2 separate regions of the Homo sapiens genome follow, and region 2 is linked to region 1. Evidence: promoter capture Hi-C in 16 types of primary human blood cells and fetal thymus (Javierre and others, 2016). All regions are on one chromosome and are shown on one strand. Each heading gives the region's core, a stretch centred on a gene start or on the middle of the fragment in contact. The rest is flanking DNA. Distances are from core to core; before and after follow the strand shown.

What was found. The method cuts DNA at HindIII sites, captures the fragments that hold promoters and counts their contacts. A CHiCAGO score of 5 or more calls a contact.
Region 2: a fragment that was not itself captured here is called in contact with the fragment with the promoter of PCDH10 in region 1 in 2 of 17 cell types (fetal thymus and M0 macrophages); the score reaches 8.8 in fetal thymus.

What each region holds. Positions count from the first base shown.
Region 1 is chr4:133,146,353-133,152,974 of GRCh38, reverse strand. PCDH10 (protocadherin 10) reads right to left here and starts at 3,681. Exons shown (of 5, transcript NM_032961.3): 1 at 204-3,681. The coding sequence starts at 2,834. PCDH10-DT (PCDH10 divergent transcript) reads left to right here and starts at 3,859. Exons shown (of 9, transcript NR_125885.1): 1 at 3,859-3,946; 2 at 5,699-5,776. RefSeq lists a silencer at 3,628-3,767 and an enhancer at 3,878-3,937. The HindIII fragment of the contact is 9,721 bases long and covers 1-6,622 here.
Region 2 is chr4:131,087,938-131,094,559 of GRCh38, reverse strand. No RefSeq gene overlaps it. Among named protein-coding and RNA genes, the nearest start is that of LINC02377, 290 kb to the left of the region's middle. The HindIII fragment of the contact is 679 bases long and covers 2,369-3,047 here.

The DNA of each region.
Region 1 (6,622 bases), core at 2,432-4,931:
ATGTGAAAGGGTGGAACAACGCGAAAGTTAGGTTACACACGAAGGAGTGGGAGAAGGTGACCGCCCATCTCTGCTCCCACAACGATACACATAAGCTAATATCCTAAAAATAGATACAGTGCACCAGAGATACAAGGGCCGGGCTAGAGGAGGCTTTCTGATGGAGGAGATGAGAGATGGTGGTCCTTTCGCTTCAGCCTTACCTCGTTGGACAAAATGCTTCCGTTGGAGATGATATCAGGCTGCTGGTCGGTGTAACCGGTGACGATGGCCCCGCAGGGGTTGTGCTCAGTGTCCGTACTCCGCGAAGGGCTGCAGGGCTTAAGAAACATCAGGTCGGTCTTGGCGGACTCAGGGGTCAGGCATACCTGATAGCAGTAATTCTGGTTGTGGTGGTGGGAGCCAAAGCCCCCGGACTCCTCTATCGGCACCTGGGCCGGGTTACTGGGTACATTGGAGCTCTGCACCAGCATGATGTCTGACTTGCTGAGTTTCTTCTTGCGCGCCCGGGCTTGGCGGCCACAGCAGGTCGAACCTCCGCCACCGCAGCAGCAGCAGCAGAGGCAGCAATCGCTGGCCAGACAAGTATAGATGTTGAGCTTCTTCTCTTTTTGGCAACGCACGGCCAGCACGATCATGGCCAGCAGGAAGATGAAGGACACCGAGCCCAACGCGATGATGAGGATGAGGGTGAGGTCTAGCGAGGTTTCCCCGCCGCCAGAGCGACTGGGGCGCTGGTGCTCTCCTGACCCTCCGCCTCCGCTCCCGCCCCCGCCCTGGGGCTCCACGGCGCCATCCACCAGCTGAACCACCAGGGTGGCGGTGGAGGAAAGGGGCGGCTGCCCATGGTCGCGCACCTCGATCACCAGCTCATAAGGCCGCTGGGGGTCGCGCTTGGCCGGGACTCGGCGTGCTGTGCGCAGCTCCCCGGTGCGCCAGTCCATGCGAAAGAGGTTCATTTCGTTGCCACGCACGATGCTGTAAGTGAGCCGGGCGTTCTCGCCGTCGTCCGCGTCCACGGCGGCCACGCGGGTGAGCAGGTAACCCGGCTCCGCCGAGCGGGGCAGCACCTCACGCGCTGGAGTCCCGTTGCGCCCTGGTAGAGGCGCCACGATGGCAGGGGCGTTGTCATTTTGATCCACTATGAGGATGTTGACAGTGGCGTTACCAGCCAGCGCCTGGGGGCTGCCAGCGTCCCGGGCTTCCACCTGAAAACTGAAGTCCTTCAGCTGCTCATAGTCGAAGGAGCGCAGGGCGTACAAGTAGCCGTTCTCAGAGTTGATAGAAACGTAGGTGAAGACGCTCATGCCCTGGATCTGGCACTCGAGGATAGAGTAGGCAAGCTGGGCGTTGGCGCCCTCATCCCGGTCGGTGGCGCTCACCGCGTAGATGTAGGCGCCAGGCACGTTGTTTTCAGTCACATACACGTCGTAGACCGGCTGGCTGAAACGCGGCGCGTTGTCGTTCACATCCGACACTTGTACCTGGATCGACTTACTGGTGGAGAGCGCAGGCTCGCCCCGGTCCCGAGCCACTACAGTCAGGGTGTAGGAGTCCCCCGCCTCTCGGTCCAGGGGGGCTTCGGTAACGATGGTGTAGTAATTCTTAAAGGAAGACTTGAGGCGGAAAGGCACGTCTCCCAGTAGCTCGCACTGCACCTGCCCATTCTCCTCTGAGTCGCGGTCAGTCACGCTGAAAAGGGCCACCACAGTGCCGGGCGCCGCGCCCTCACTCACCGCTTCCTTCACGGTGCTGAAGCTGATCTCTGGCGCGTTGTCATTAGCATCCAGTACTCGCACTAGCACCTTGCAGTGCGCAGGCACGGCGTTGGGGCCCAGGTCCTTGGCTTGCACGTACACTTGGTACACTGGGCTCTCTTCATAGTCCAACTCGCCGCTTACCTCCAGTCTGCCAGTGCGCGGCGAGAGTCCGAAAAGCTCCCGCGCCCGGGGCGAAATGTGGCTGCTGAAGGAGTACACGACCTCACCGTTCTGGCCCTCGTCCGGGTCGGTGGCGTTGAGCTGGATCACGAGAGTGCCTGGGGGAGAGTTCTCTGGTAGGGACACAGTGTAGACGGGTTGGTCGAAAGCGGGCACATTGTCATTGGAGTCCAGCACTCGGATGGTGAGTAGGGCCGTGCCGGTGCGCTGCTGCTGGGGGGGCAGGCCTGCTCCCCCGCCACCTCCCCCTCCTTCTCCTACTCCTCCCCCACCTCCTCCGTCCACCGCGGTCAGCACGTAGCGGTGCACCGCTTGCTGCTCTCGGTCCAGTGGCTTCTCCAGCACCAGCTCAGCGAATCGGTTGCCATCCCCCTGGGTCTGCACGTCCAGGGAGAAGTAGCTGTTGGGGGTGATCTCGTAGTCGCGCAAGGAGTTGGTGCCCACGTCTGGGTCGAATGCGCTCTCCAAGGGGAAGCGAGTGCCTGGCGTGGCGCTCTCAGAGATTTCCACCGTCAGGTCTGGCTCCGGGAAAGAGGGGGGGTTGTCATTAATGTCCAGCACCTCGATCTCCACCTGGAACAGCTCCAGGGGGTTCTCCAGAAAGACCTCCAGGTGCAGGACACAGGAGGGGCTCTGTTTGCAGATTTGTTCGCGGTCTATTTTCTCGTTCACGTACAGCACCCCTGTCTCCAGGTTGAGGTCTAAGTAAGGGGTCCTTGAGTTGGGCACCGTCTGAAACCCGCGAGCCGAAAGTTTTGTAATGTCCAGACCCAGATCTTCAGCGATATTCCCCACGAAAGTGCCATGTTCCTGCTCCTCCTGTACCGTGTAGTGAAGCTGGGAAAAGACTCCTTCCACCATCCAGAGCAAGGCAAACAATAATAGCACAATCATCTCCAAAAGGAAAGGAAGTAGCTTCCCGCAGCCAGTCAGCCACCCAATCACCTCCCCCACCACCACGAAACAAAAAAAAATCTGAAAAAATACAAATAAAAGTGCGCTACGTGGGGGCTCCTGTGGCTTTCTGTCTTTAAAAATCTTACTCCTTTTGCTTCATTTTAGAGCTTCCCGCAATCCAGCCTCATTTTTTTTTAAATCTTAGCACAGGAAGGGTGACAGGCGTCCCCTTTCCTCATCTGTAATCTTTCCACTGACTAATTAATAAAATAACAATAATACAATAGTCAGCGTCCTTTATTCCGACAGTCTTGGCGCTGGCAAATCCCAAAGAGGAAATTTCGATATTTCAAGACTGTCCTCGGTTTGTCTTCTTGCTGATGGGAGGAGAACGAGGAGGAGGAAAAAGAGGAGGAGGAGGAGGAAGAAGAAGAAGAGGAAGAGGAGAAGGAAAAGGAGATGCTGTTGGCACCGTTAAACATGCCTCTTAATGTCAACGGCTGGCAAATGCAAAAGGGCTTAAAATCAGCGATATAATTTTGTGCCGGAAAAGCACAGAACGGCTCTGCAGCTTAAAACTTTCATTCTCTTCATTTCTCCGGATGGATGTTCTTCTTGACATTTTTTTCCTCTTTCGCTCTATTTGTATTTTTTGTCTTTCAGAGTCTTGGTTCCCTCTGTCCTCATCTCCACCGTTACTTGCCTCTCTGTAAGTGTAATGAGCAGTTTCTTTTCTGCTGTTTTCTTCCCAAGCCTCTTTCCCTCTAACCTGTCTCTTTTTCCTTCCAGTCCTTCCTTCCTCCTGCTTCAGCCTCTGAGCCTGTGGTCTGGGCTGGCAGTTTCTGAGCTCCGAGCGCTCGGCTTCTCCGTTTTTGCGCAGCGCCCTCATTCTGCCAACCAATCGCCCAGGAGCACCACCCACCGAGCTGCCGATGATTGGCCAAACTGGCCGCCAAACAGACACGTCACGCGGCAGCCGGGCGGGGCGGGACAGAACTCTCGCCCGAGCGGCCGGGGTGAGTGTGAGTGTGAGAGCGAGAACAGCCCCGCAGGTCCCGAGGCGCTGGCTGGGGACAATGCCGCGGAAAGTTCCCAGTCCCCAGCCGCAGGTAATGGGGAGGGAATAGAGAGGTTCCCCTGTTTGCATCAGCAAATGCGAAAACATAATAGCAACAGCTGCGATATCCTCTCCTAGGAGCGGGATTTCCAATGATGCTAACATTCTTTTTCCTTTAAGGTATTTTCCCTAATACGCATCATGGAAATAAATCATCGAGAAGGGAAAAAGTAGCGCAGGGCCCACTAATTGGCAAGGGTTACCTAATTAAGGGACCCTAGCAGAGACTGGCAGGGCATTTTAAAAGTGAGTATTATATGGCATGTGTCAATCTAAAGGTGAGGGGGTCTGACGGGGCCGTGAGGAAAGGCGCGAAGCATACGGAGTAGGGGGTGGAGGTGACTCCTAAAAAGCGGAGGAATTCACGCTAAAGGATGTGGGGATGACAGCGCTTACAGACGGGCAGACGCGTTCGACGTGCTTCTTTCCTCCCAAAATACATATTCACAAAATACTTACCAAGTAGATTAACTCACTCGAGGACCTAGCTTCGAGCCGTGAGCGCGTTCATCAGTGACTGAGGAGTTGATTTGAGCCGCTTCCTACAAGCCCGCCATCCTAACGCCGGGCTCTGGGGCATCCGGCACACAGCACCGCCAAGCGCTGCAAAGCGCCTCTGATATCCCTGCGCCTTGTGCGGCCAAGTGCCACGCAGCGGCTGGGAACACCGGCTATTTTCTATTTTTTTTTTGGCAATTGGAGATCGATCCCTTTACCCACCATGCTAGATTAGACCACTGATTTCTGCCAATCCTGGGGTCAGCCCGCGGGATGAGGACAGTGGGGCGGCGGCGAACGCGGGCGGGGTGGTGGGCAGGGCCCGTGCACACGAGGGGCCCGAGTGTGCACCGCTGCGGGTATCTGCGAACACGTTTGCACATGCACGGTACTTGCATCCATCCTCCCTGGCCCAGGGCTTAGCTCTGTGTAAGCCCCAACGGAGCCTCCCCGAGTTCCGAAGGACGCGCTTGACCAGCTGTGAGTGCCCCTTCCGGAGGCGCAGGGGCAACGCGGCACATCCACATAGCTAGTTCTTGTGAAGTTAAAACACAGCGCGAACTCTTTAATGCTGGAGAGTGGATAGAATGCCAGTTCTCTAAGGAAAGATCTATAAATATATATTTTTAATTAATGGGCCACTAGCAAGGAATTGGTTGTTTATTCACGAAAGAAGCCCCTATTCAATCTCCTTTTTATGCAAAGAGATAGGAAGGTCCTTTGCTGCTTTCTGGTAATGAATGACCCAAGAATACACCACCACAACCTGCGGGAAAAGTAGAGTCGTTTTCCGACCTGGAGATACGTTGCCATTTCCTCCTGGCAAGGAGTTAAGGAGGGCTAGTGTCCATGGGCGTGATAGTAGCCTGAGACGTGCTTCTGAGAGTCCCGCGAATGCACGTCTACTGCCCTGATTTCCGCGCCCCAACTCCCCGCAACGCCGGGTCCCCCCGGCCCCCGCACTTGGCTCTTTCATGAAGATGGGTCCTGCCTTTGAGCGCTTAGAAGGAAAGGATTCCAGCAAAAATGGCTAATCCTTTTCCAGCTGCAGTAAATTGAAGACTGGCCAAAGCCAAGCGAAAACCGCTGCAGTTAAAATGATTTTAGCATCACGTCTGCGGCTGAGAATGGAGCGGCAGTGTATAAAGGGACCTGTGGATCAATGAAAAGGAGATTATAGTGTATCTGAATATTAATACGGTATTGCATCTGTACTTCCACCCCTCCCCCCTTTCTTTTTCTTCAGATCTGCAGAATTGAAATGAAATGTTTTGAGCTCTTCAAGCTGACTCGTCAGAATCCTGGAGCCTTTTAAAAAATGACGGTAATTTTCTAATGCGTTCATTTGTACGTATGGAAACACTTGTGTGTGTGCGCGCGAGTGCGCGCGTGTTTGCATGTGGGAGACATGCAGCTGAATGACAATGCAGATCCAGAAACTGGGGAAGAGGGTTTCTACCCCTGAAATGTAGATGAAGTTTGAGCTGACTTGGGGCATATGCTGAAAGCCAGAGAGCTTCCAGAGGTGGAGATGAGATGGCCAGATTTGCCTGTAAATAATCACTACATCCACTGTAACACTTGAGCTGCTTTTATTTTTTTTTATTTTTTATTTTTATTTTTGGTAGCAGATGTGTTTGAATGGAACTCTCTCCGCAAACGTGGGTTACAGGCGTCTCCTAGCGGCGAAATCAGCATAGGGCAGGCCAGAGAATTTTGCTTTGGAGAGCTCGCCTTTTGGGGGCTCTACAAGATTTCTTGGGTCATAGGGGTCTGTGTCCGCACCAGCGTCGCTGAGCCCAGGCCCCCTAGAGGTCTCGCCTCTCCGACTTCTAGTCTTTGTGGCGCCAGCCAGGGACCGGCGGAGTGACGGTAGGGTCTTCTTCCCGGCCGAACAGAACAGAGCCTGGTCCTCCGCCTCCCGCTAGATAGCTCCAGCCAAGGGCAATTCCAAGAGCATTTTGTTTGGAGCCAAGATCAGATAGTGGCATTAATAGCCTTCTATGCCCCTTTACCCTAGAGCCTTTAAAACAACCATGCCCCGTCACCCACAAAACAAAACAACACTTTAAATTTGCCTTTTAAAATGCCTCTAAAATGTAACAGGTTTACTTTTTCCCTTGCTGTGTCAATCAAACAGATCCCTGCCTTTCGTTTTTCTTTTTCATTC
Region 2 (6,622 bases), core at 1,459-3,958, 2.1 Mb after region 1:
TCAAAACATGAAGTCAAACGATAATTAGGGGAAAAACATGTAACCCATCCTCCCTCAACCTGTAGAGTTGACACAACTCTGCTGACACCTTAATTTTAAATTTTTAGCCTCACAATTTGTGAAAGAATGCATTTCTGTTATTTTAAGCAAGCCAGTTTATGGTGGCTGGCTACAGAAGCCCTTATAAACTGATGTAGTACTTTATCAATCACTTGGTAAGTTATTACTAGTAACTGATAAATTATAAATTATATTCATTTATTAATCTCTATAGCTGTATTTTTATCTTTTATACAGGTCACGGCATTTTCTTTTTGTATGGGTAGTCTTCTCAGAATTTACCATCACCTTGTCTACATAAAACACTAAAAATATGTTCTAACTATAATTTCAATTACTTTTTTTAAAAAGGTAAGAACTTAAGGTGTAAAAAAATGCATATTAAAGATGTTTCTAGATTTTTTCTGTTTTAAAAAACTATATATTTCTACCATTTTAAAATAATTATAGTTAACATTACTGTTTCTACTAAGACAAGTATTTTTAACCAACTTGCCTTTTTAGTCTCTGCAAAAACTTAGTTATACTTTAATTTTTGAACTATGAGAACACATGGACACAGGAAGGGTAACATCACACACTGGGGACTGTTGTGGGGTAGGGGGAGAGGGGAGGGATAGCATTAGGAGATATACCTAATGCTAAATGACAAGTTAATGGGTGCAGCACACCAACATGGCACATGTATACATATGTAACAAACTTGCACATTGTGCACATGTACTCTAAAACTTAAAGTATAATAATAATAAAAAAACAGCAACTCTCTTTTTGCTCACTTTTTTTCAATAATCAAATTATATAATTATAACATCAAGTTTGACTGTCATAAATAGGCTTTGGAACAAACACAACTGATTCTTAGCAAACATGCAAGTAAACTGGTAGGAGTATAAACTCGAGTGTAGCACATACAATATGCCTTGGGCATCGGTCAATCTGTTCTACAAAGGAAATATAGATCTTTGATGTTCTTGGAAGAAGATTATGTAAAGGTGAGTCAGAAGAGTGACTCCTATATCTTGTGTCTGTGTTTCCATGGGGATAGCAACACCTGTTCATGTGCCTCTCTTTACTACTGAGTGTGAAGAAAAGGAAGAGACTTCTACCCTACCTATGAAATACCATGGATACCACTGCACCTAAAACATAGTAAATGTTCACTCAAATAGATATAAAATAAACATATTAATAACCTATAAATGAATAGATAAAATCATCTACTTAGAATAACCTACTAAACACAGTGGTCGTTATTTGAAAACAGTTGTTAAGGAGGGATTTTTGAAGAAAAAAGTGTTTTTCCCCCTTGCACACATTACATACAGATGTGAATACATGCTGTAGGAAAATCTCTGTCACAGACTTAGTGAAACAGAACAGAGCTCATAAATTTGGGTTTTTCTCTGTTTGAAGAATAAGAAAGTGTAAGAAAACAAAAAATTAGAAAAATTTCAGGAGTCTTTAATACTGACAAAGATTACTTTAGTAATATTAATAAAGCAATGCTATAATTTGAATTGCTCAGAATTATTAAAACTAACCGTAAGGCTATAACCTGCTTATTTGCACTATGTGATTGATGCTCTTTTATATTTTATAGTGATAGCTCCTGGGCAGAAACCTTTGTCAATTAAGACAAATTACTGTGCCTCCTGGATTTCTCTTTTTATGTCTGTCAGCACATTATATCTTTATGGCCAGCATTTATTTCTGTAGGAATATTGTAGCTCTACCAACTTCAACTTTAGAGGCATCTCAGACCATCTAAATAGAATTCAAATAGTCCAGAAAGAACACTATTTTTCCCAAAGAGTTATCTGATCCATGTGTGATTTTATGGAAGAGATTTGAAAGTATGTCTTGCTTTCTTTAGGATCTTCCCCGAAGGCAGATTCACTAAAGTGTTTAAAGAGATTCTACTCTCATGAATTAAATCTTTATATTTCTAGAAAAGAGAGATTGATGGTCAAATATTTTTTTCTTTATAACAATTTATTAAAATGTTGGTTAAAAGTGTTCTTTAAATTGAGACATTATTGATAAATTATTAAAACTTCACATATTATATGTCAAATTAATACTTCAAAGTCTAATAGTAAAGTGAAAGATTCATACATTAATGTGTCAACAGTGTTTTCCTTCACCTGACAGCCCCCAACACCAAAATTATATAACCTTAAATAAAAAAAAAAAACTAAAACTGAACCATAAAATATTTACAGTTTACATATTCTTTTCAGTTTTCTTTTTGGAAATATGTGGCATCAATGCAATGAAGTATTAAGAAAAGTTCAATGAGAAAGCTTTATTAAGATTACCATTTTTAGCATGGCTAATGGCTATGATCTTAAACTGTTAAGTAGTTCCCCATGAACTCTTAAAGAGCTATGCTGCCATCTATTGACAATGCAAATGTCTTTTAATAGTTATTAAGTATATGGTGCAAGAAAACACATTTTTAAATAAAAATAATCTGTATTTGGAAAGTAGGTGTTTTTAAAAAATCCTTTGTATGGTAAATGGGTGATATTCAAAATTATAATACCCTATTTTTTCTTTCAATATGGAAGGCTTATTAACAAATTATATTGTACTAGCAAATTTGCTGAATGTTGCAGATATTTTAAAGCACTACAAGCAAGCAATCTGCAAGAGTTAATGTCTTAACTGTAACTGGGCTTATGCATCACAATATCGTTATGCCGTATTTACTACATTGAATTTAATGGGATTAGCATGCATTATTAGGAATGTAAAACATCGTTTTAAAAAGGTAAACAAGACTCAGCAAAATGGCTATTTGGAGAAGGATAATTAAAAAGAATGTATGATAAAATAATATAGACACAAAAGCATGTTTACTGTTCACGATGTTTTACAATAAGGTGAAAAGCACCTGTATTTAATGTCTGCTGAAGCAGAGGCTTCCTAAAGAGAGCAAGAGAGAACTGTATTTGGACAGTTAGAATTTAAATGGTTAAGCTTCCTTTTTTTTTTCTTTTTTCGAGACGAAGTCTGGCTCTGTCACCCAGGCTGGAGTGCAGTGGCCCAATCTCAGCTTACTGCAACCTCCACCTCCTGGGTTCCAGCAATTCTCCTTCCTCAGCCTCGCAAGTAGCTGTGATTACAGGTGTGTGCCACCACGCCCGGTTAATTTTTGTATTTTTAGTAGAGACGGGGTTTCACCATATTGACCAGGATGGTCTTGAACTCCTGACCTCAGGTGATCTGCCTGTCTTGGCCTCCCAAAGTGCTGGGATTACAGGCGTGAGCCACCGCGCCCGCTGGTTAACCACTTTGAATGCAGGCTATATACATATGTTAGAAGTCCTTCTGAAAAAAATGTTCTCCTCTTTTTCTATTGAAATATTTAGTGGTTTTTAGTAACAGGATGCTAAATGAAGAAAATGTACATAAATATACCCCCTACTTCTACTCTCATAAGTGAGGAAGAGCAGGTTATTTGCCCTTCCTAATGGGAAAATACAATTCCCATTGACTAGGAAAAGTGCTTGACAGAACATTGGGGTTTGAAGGCTTTCTCGGTCTTGGATCCTTATTTTAAGATCTTAGTGTGAGGCTATGGGTTGTTAATGAGAATTCTTAGATATCCTTTGAGGAAATTATCATCATTACCTATCTGATTGGGACAAGTTTACACTAATCAAAATTTGAAAACAGAAGTCATGGAAAGAGGGAAATGGGTTGGTAAATTAACGTCAACACACCCAAAGGAGCTATGTGTTTGTGATGGAGCAGCTAGACTGGAAACCTTTCTGGACTCTGCCACTCTAACTTAAAGTTCATATTCCATTCAGTCGTGTTTACGTATGCAAAGTGAATTAAAAGAGCTATGACTTTGCACTCCTATGTAACAAAGACATTGCTATAGCAGCAGACAAGCCTCCAATACTAGACAGATAGATGTTGTTCATCGCCAACTGGTGACAGTGGCTAGAGAGGGAGAGCTCAAGTGCTACAGGACTTGTCTAAGCAGGATACACAAAAATCCTAAAGTTTTTTCAAAGTTGGAAAAAGTAAAATCCCTTCTCAACTTTTCCCTACCAAAGGCTGACCAACTCTGGATAAAAGGAAATTTTGGTACTTTTTAAGTTTGCTATTCTTATGTTTTTATCCTTTCTTCCCCATTCACTATACTGCCTTTTTGGGGGCAAGGTTGGAGTAAGGAAGGAGTAGGGCAGGGAAACTCTTACTTGACTAGCACATAGGTAATTCAGTGTTGTTTTACTCTGGATAATTCTAATTAAAGCTCATTTTATCTCTCAGGTTTTCTTGGGTGCTTCTTGCAATTATGGGAGTGTAGCAAGTGTGTCTTTTGGCTTAAGTAGTGTTTCTTCTTGAACTGGCTTCTTAATATTGCCCCTCAAATTCTTTAGTTATTGATGTACTCAAGCCTTTTTGGGTGTGGGTACCATCACCCTCTGATACCATTGATACCATCCAGATCACAGTTGTCCCTTTTAAAGCAACTATAGGCTGATATTGGCATTGCAGATAAGCATCAGGTACTTCAACCAGTTCTGGATAATCACATAACATTGACCTCCTATCCAAGGTAGAGCAGGTAATTTGCAAATGTAACCATCTATCCTGTTGCAACAGGCTCATTCCATAAGCATCTCACCCTTTACTTTTTCACTTTTTTTCAGGAGAGTTAGCCACTAGCTCATAGTTTCACATATGATCCAGGACACATACAATATCTTCAAAACCTAAAATGAAGAGTCACTACTCAGCAACCCTCTCCAACCTGAGATGGAAGAATGTTTTTAAAAATAGCACACTCTCTTCAAAGAAACGCTCCAGCTTCCAATAATCTAAACTCTTGCACCATCAAATTGTCGATGGATTAAGAATTGCAAACTGGTTTTAAAGATCTCTTTAAGTATTCTGCATAAAGCATGTAATAATTTAATTTGGAATCTAGGAGCCCATTTATTTTATTTTTGGGTTTTTTTGTGGCCTAAAAATAAAATAACAAAACAACAACAACAACAACAACAACAAAACCAGAGTGTCATTTCGAGATGCTGACACCAGAGTAGAAGGATGTCAGACTAAACATTCTATGATGTTCCACACTGGAAATATGGATACTAAGGTGAAGAAGATTTATGTATATCAGGTATTAAATTATAAAAATAAGAGTATCATGGACACACTCACCAAATCTTTGTATGTTATAGTTTGCTTGGAGGAAACCATCTAAATCTTGAGAAATCAAAATTTTGAGTCAAACCTTAGAACCACATAGTATAAATGTAGAACATAGGAAGAGTTATCATTTGTTGCATACTTACTCTATGTCAATTTTTATGTGCTAATTTGGTATATTAAAATGATTTCATTGAGTAATTACTACTATCTTTACTTTGTGTGGAAAAAAAGACATGAAGCTTAAAGAAATTATTCTTACTATGTCCATTAAAACATAGCTGCTAAATGGTAACTGGAATTTGACAACAAAGACTAGACTTTTTCCATTTTCTACTTTCTGACTTCAAGAGTTGTTAGAGAAGGTCCTGATAAGTTCTAATGATATTAGATATATTGTTGGTTATGGCTTTGATAAAATACAATAAATATATGTTAGATTATTGAAAGGAGCAAGAATGATTCACATTTGCTATTTGCCTTCTGAAGTTGTTATCTAAAGGAGTTAATAAAGTTTTCCTATGACATAATCTATAATTATAACCTTAGAGTCAAAATCCTGATATCCTATAGACTTGAAAATATACAGCTATCCATGTCCTCTAATTTCTACCCTTGTGAGTGATGGCTTTGCCCCTGTAAGACTGCATCAAGAAAACCAGTAGCCAGAATATAGGAATACACCAGGTTCTGAATAGCTAGGTTACAGGAAATGTGTGTTTATCATATTTACAAATCAGCATTACTAACATTATGAACCGAAGAACAGTTTTCATCTCCTTGGCATTCTGAGGCCCATTTATGTAAGCTGAGATTCTTTTTTTGTTTTTTTTTTCAGGTTTAATTATTTTATTCTATTCTTAATTGGCAGATAAAATTGTATGTATTTATCCTGTATTCAAAACAACAGGTGGTTTTGAAGTATGGGTTTTTTTATTTATTTTGCATGTGTAAGCTAAGGATAATAATTACAGTTATTGAAGGTATCTGGGGCTTTTTAGGTATGCTGATACTTAAATAAGAATGTGGGGGATGGATTGGGGAAATAGGTATGTTTTTAGGTATGTTGATACTTAAATAAGAATTTGGGGAAAAGGATTGTCTTCTTTCCTTGGGGAAAGGAGACAAATGATTTGGAGTAAAGTGTCAATGATTGGATTTATAATTATAAAAAGCACTTTCAATTGCACTGCTAAACTGTTTATATTCTCAAGAAGAGTGTGATGTGAAGCTCTACAGTTTTCATTTCAAAAAGAAATAAAGTAGAAATTTTTAGATACAGTATAGTTTCTGTTGTTTTTATTTGATCCATCACCAACTTCTATTGAAAAAAAAGTGACAGATGCCAGTGAAGTTGGAAGCACCTTTAAAAACACCAAGTCCT